Regions from separate parts of the Homo sapiens genome. Here region 1 is linked to region 2. Evidence: promoter capture Hi-C in 16 types of primary human blood cells and fetal thymus (Javierre and others, 2016). All regions are on one chromosome and are shown on one strand. Each heading gives the region's core, a stretch centred on a gene start or on the middle of the fragment in contact. The rest is flanking DNA. Distances are from core to core; before and after follow the strand shown.

Region 1 (2,700 bases), core at 201-2,700, 280 kb after region 2:
TTAGAAATCTTTTTATTTGAACACATACATCTCCCTCAAACTTCTTCCACTTTTCTCTATCTTCCAGGTACAGCCAGGCATTACAAAAATTTCCCTTTCCTTCTGCCTATAAGTAATCCAAAAAGCTTCCCTCATTGCAGCCTAATATACACTGCTTTTCCTAAATCTGGCTATAAATAAGAAGATGATATAGTGAGCTCTGAAGTGATATTAACCTTAATAGAGAACCTGAATCCATAACTTCCAAACTTTCCCTTTAGAAGCTCCGAAGTTTACATCTATCTTTTTTGGTGGGGGTGGGTGGTAGGGGGTTGAGACAGGGTCTTGCTTTGTTGCCCAGCCTGGAGTGCAGCAATAAAAAGGAACAAACTATCAACACATTCAACAACAGTTGAATCAACAACAGTTGAAAAGTATTACACTAAATGAAAGAAGTCAAACACAAAAGACTGCATGATCTAATTTTTTAGGAAATTCTAGAAAAGGCAAAACTATAGCAATAGAAAGCAGATCAGCGGCTACCAGAGGCCACCGGTTGGGTAAGAGGGACTGACTGCAGCCAAGGGGCATGAGAAATCATTATTTGGGGGTAATGGGAATGTTCTATATAATGACTGTGTTACTATAAAACTACACATTTTTCAAAACTAGTCAAGATGTACACTTAAAACTGGTGGATTTTACTGTAAGCATATGCTAATAAAGTTGACAAAGCATTAAAGAAACAATGTTATGAAAAAAGTTCTCACTTTGCCCTCTTTCTCTTGAAGTTTTCCAATAAAATCTGCTTTACTTACACTTTTTCTTTTTAACATAAAAGTCTATAATCCCAGAATCACTAGCTGTAAATTCCTTAATGTTCTCTGGTAAAGGCTGAAGATTAAGACAAGGTACATAGCTGCACTGTCAATCTTTACTGCCAACTAGTTTGGGTAATCAGTGACCAAATATTCTTTTTATTTCAAAGATAACTAATATAGGCTGGACACGGTGGCTCATGCCTGTAACCTCAGCACTTTGGGAGGCTGAGGTGGATGGATCACTTGAACTCAGGAGTTTGAGACTGGCCTGGGCAACAAGGCAAAATCTCCTCTCTACAAAAAAAAAAAAAAAAAAATTGGCCAGACATGCTGGCATGCGCCTGTAGTACCAGCTACTCAGGAGGCTGAGGTGGGATGATCACCTGAGTCTGGGGAGGTTAAGGCTGCAGTGAGCCACGATCACACCACTGCACCCCAGCCTAGGTGACAGGGTAAGACCCTGTCTCCAAAAAAAATAAAATGAATATACACATAAATATGTGGTACTTTTCCCCATTTAAATTTTTTGAATTTTAATTCACATCATTATTTTGACAGGTTTAAAGTGATTTACTGTCCATTATCTATATGTTTTAAATATCATATTTAGGTAGGAAAGGTTTAAAGTTCTAGACTCAATATTTATATTTCCAGGTAACTTAATATCCAATAAAAAAAAAACCTTAGGAAAAGTTTAAGGTACTAGACTCAGTATTTATATTTCCAGGTAACTTAATATCCAATAAAAAAAAACCTAACTGTACCGCAAGCAGACACAGAATGAAAACGATCAAACAAAAACCTTAAGGAATACACAAAAGTAATGCTGAAAGATAGTTGAATGGTAACTTACAAGGCAGACCTAGCCCACAAATGTGTTCAGTGTGGCTTGCATATCTGTTAAAAATCAAGAGATTTCCCATCTAGATTTCCAGTTTCTCTTGAAAAAAATCAGAAGCTCTGGCAAGACTGTGCCCACAGTACTAAATTTCAACCATCAGCTAAAGCTAAGACATTGCCTCTGTTAAACAAAGCAGGAACTCCTCAGTTTGTCCAAGCTCCATAACACCTAAGTTCACTCATTGTCACTACCTGCATGGCTACGCGTACCTGAGTTTTCAAACCCTAGCAGGACTATTTCTTCTATGTGCCTCAACTAACCATAACTGAGAGTTATATGGAAAAAGTTTCTCCTAGATTTAATATGCCTGGTTTTGGGTAAACCCAAAACAATCTGTTTATTAATAGTACACTATAATAATGTATATGCTCTACTGTGGCATGCAAAATGTAAAATGAATGCTGCTGATGTACTACAAAGTATATGAAAATTATAACCAACTTAGTGTACTTCCATGGTAAGCACAAACTCAGATTCTAGAACTTTATTCACTACATTCATTAATGTAAGAAAGCCATCTCCATGTGCAAAATCAAAACAATAAGAAACAAAGCATCTTTATTGCTCTACCATAAAACTGACCCTCAAATATACAGAAAGAATACATGAAATATACTTAAGGTTTTAACGAAAGGATAAAATAAAATATAGCACTATGTTAGGAAGGAAATAGGAATATAATTCTAAGCATTCATTCATTAGCTATAATTATTATTTACCCATTTGAAAAGGGGAAAAATTCTTTTACCACAACTTTAAGGTATTTGCTGAGATATCTTTTTAGTTACCAAAGGAAAGTCTGGAGAGTCCTAGGTATGAAAAACAGTAAGTTAACAGAAAAACAAAATCTTACAAACTTACCCGCTCCGCAGTTCCCTCCTCTCCTGGTAGACATGCAGCAGCAGCAGCAGCAGCAGCACAAGCTATTTCCATCATAGCAGAGCTGGTAGGTGCATCAGTTGTGGATGAAGACCTGGGTCGGCCTGACTGCATAACAGC
Region 2 (3,076 bases), core at 323-2,822:
CTATTGATAGACACTTACATCTTTGTCATTTTGCTGAGTGTGAAATACAGCCTCATTCTTGTTTGTTTTCTTTTCTTTCCCTCCCCCTTTTTTTTGGGGGGGGCAGGGTCTTACTCTGTAGCCCAGGCTGGAGTGCAGGGGTGTGATCACAGCTCCCTGCAGCCTTGACCTCCCAGGCTCAAGCAATCCTCCTGCCTCGGCCTCCCAGGTAGCTGGGACTACAGGTGCACACCACCATGCCCAGCTAATTTTTGTATTTTTTGGTAGAGACAGGATTTCACTTTTTTGCCTAGGCTGGTCTTGAACTCCTGGGCTCAAGCGATCCTCCTGCCTCAGCCTCCCGAAGTTCTGGGATTACAGGTATGAGCCACCATGCCTGGCCTCTCATCCTTGTTTTAATCCATCTTGTCATTTTATATTATATTATATTATTTTATTTTATTTTTATTTACTTATTTTTGAGACACAGTTTCGCTCTTGTTGCCCAGGCTGGAGTGCAATGGCTCGATCCTGGTTCACTGCAGTCTCCAGCTCCCAGGTTCAAGTGATTCTCCTGCCTCAGCCTCCCAAGTAGCTGGGACTACAGGTGCACACCACCACGCCCAGCTAATTTTGTATTTTTAGTAGAGATGAAGTTTTACCATGTTGGCCAGGCTGGTCTCAAACTCCTGACCTCAGGTGATCCGCCCACCTCAGCCTCCCAAAGTGCTAGGATTACAGGCCTGAGCCACCGCACCAGCCCACCTTGTCATTTTAGATGGCTGCAGAATATTCTGCAGAAAGGGTGTGATTTAGCCAGGCCTTGGGTGTTTGCTTGGAAAGTTTTTTTTTTTTGTCTGTCAATTTGATGGGAAAAAGTAGTATTTCACCATTGTTTCAATTTGAATTTTCTCAAATGCCAAGGAAGTTGAGTGTCCATTTTCCTGTTTCTGTTCCTCACCCTTTAGGCTGGTGAATTGCCTGTTTATATTCTTTGTCCATTGTCCCAGTGGATGTTGTCCTTATCTATGAAGACTTTTGTGAAGCATCCTCCGTTATTGATTTATTTCTTTAAAAACAAAACCAAAGGAGGGCATAGGCCCAGAGAGCCTGGCTGGCCTCAGAAGGGGCTACTCTGATTGAGGGGCATGTGCTCTGGGCAAAAGTAGCAGTTGGGCTGCCTCCAACTGCTACTTTTTGAGAAATTGAGGCCAGCAGTGGCGTGGGGCAGCCCATTGCCCACCTGGTAGGATTAGAGGGCCGCCTCAGCGGCCTCCCTGACAACACAGGTGACCCCAATTCCTCATCAGCATCTCCAGCCCCTGGTGGGCAGAGGGCACAGGCGAGATCAAGCATCTCAGCTCCCAACATTGCACCATGGGGACTGAGACCCAGAGAAGTCAAGCGACACCCCCAAGCTTACACAGGAGTGGGTAGTCCAGCTGGGGCTCCCTACAGAAGGCAGGATGCTGTGCCCCATTCCACACCTCCAGCCCCAGTCAGCAGCTTGGAGCACTCCCAGCCCAATCAGGGCTGATTGGAGTGGTGGGGGTGGGCTGCTGGTATATAAGCCTAGTGGGCAGGCCCAGCAGCCTCACACCCGGGTGAGGGGTCTGCTGGCTGCACCTGTCGGTCTCATGGCTCCTGGGAGCGTCACCAGCGACATCTCACCCTCCTCGACTTCCACAGCAGGATCATCCAGGTCTCCTGAATCTGAAAAGCCAGGTGAGCAAGAGGAGGCAGCTCCTCCCTCATCCCTGCGAGCCCACTCCCTGGGTTGCCTTTGATGCTCCACCCCTGCTTCTCGTTCTTTCCCAGCCTGGCCCCAGCACCTACCCAGCACCCACCCAGCACTCACCCAGCACTCACCCAGCACCCACCCAGCACCAAGCTGCTGAGCTCAACTGCCTTTTGGCTGAAGAGCTGATCTACAGGTAGCAAGGCCAGGTAGGGCCTGGGGGCTGGGGCCGGCCTCGCTCAGGGAAGAGCCACAGGGCCTTCCAGCTGGAGCCCGTTTCCTGCTGGGACCGTAGCCCGTAGCCAGGCTGCAGCTGTGGGCAGCTAGTTGGAGGGACTGGGGCAGGAGCATTTTATGCAGGGCTAGGCATTCCGATTTTCAACCAAAAAACACCTCAGGGTTTATCTGGACATGAGGGTGCACCGAGGCAAACCAGGCCCAGTTCACTCCCTCGAGGACCTCCCGGTCTGATGGGGAAGCCTGGCCCATGGCTTGTTGCTGTTTGCTAATGTGATGTGTGCTTCAGTGGCGGTAATCCAGAGCTGGAGGAGCCCAGAGGAGTCCTCTAACCCACTCTGGGAGGTCAGGGAAAGCTTCCTAGAAGAGGTGACCCTGAAGGATGGGTGTGCCTCAGCCGGGGGAAGTGTTCTATTTGCCAAGACACCTAGGGAGATAGGGAGGGGGTCCAGGTGCCGAGAAGTAAAAGGGCAGAGTTAACTGGGAAGTCAGAGGTGTCCAAACCAAGGTGCATTTTGAGCCTTGAAGGATGAGTGAGAGCAGCCTGCATGACCGGGAGGAGAGAGGCAGCCCAGGCAGAGGAAACGGCATGGGCTAAGGCCCAGAGGCCAGCGCACCAGCAGCTTGTCTCGGAAGCTGCATCTTCCTTCTGGGAAGGAGGGAAGTGCTGGGGCAGTGCTAGGGGAGCAGTGGGAGGGCCTCCAAGGCGGTCTTCAGTTAGGTCAACTTTTATCTTGAACAGGGAGCCATGGACGGTTTCAAGCAGGGAGGTGAGGGGTGTGAGATACAGCGAGGAGAATGCATGCGGTGGGGAAGAGGCAGTGGGGAGGAGGCTGGGGCTGGGGAGTTGGAGAGGAGAGGCCAGAATATGGAGAGAAAAGCCTATGGGGAGGCCTCGAGTGGGTGTGGTGAGGAGGAAAGGGCCCAGAATGCCCCCAGTTCTTGCTTGGATGTTGGGTAGGTATGGGCAGTGGGGGCATGGGGCATTCCTGGAAGAGAGAGGAGGGGCAGATTTGGGGGGCTGAGCTCTGTTCTGGACATCCTGGTATACAGCAGGCATGGAATAGCTGCCGAATGAGGGGCTGGGATGAGAGGGAACAGACCTGAGGGAGGACTCCTGGG

The links. Contacts are between HindIII fragments. The CHiCAGO score rates a contact against its expected background, and 5 or more counts as called.
Region 1: a fragment that was not itself captured here is called in contact with the fragment with the promoter of H1-8 in region 2 in 1 of 17 cell types (M1 macrophages); the score reaches 5.8 in M1 macrophages.

The regions. Positions count from the first base shown.
Region 1 is chr3:129,825,241-129,827,940 of GRCh38, forward strand. TMCC1 (transmembrane and coiled-coil domain family 1) reads right to left here. Exons shown (of 7, transcript NM_001017395.5): 4 at 2,563-2,700. Among named protein-coding and RNA genes, the nearest start is that of TMCC1, 67 kb to the right of the region's middle. The HindIII fragment of the contact is 2,654 bases long and covers 124-2,700 here.
Region 2 is chr3:129,541,603-129,544,678 of GRCh38, forward strand. It overlaps H1-8 (H1.8 linker histone), which reads left to right and starts at 1,573. Exons shown (of 5, transcript NM_153833.3): 1 at 1,573-1,704. The coding sequence starts at 1,617. RefSeq lists an enhancer at 1,112-1,613. The HindIII fragment of the contact is 913 bases long and covers 1,396-2,308 here.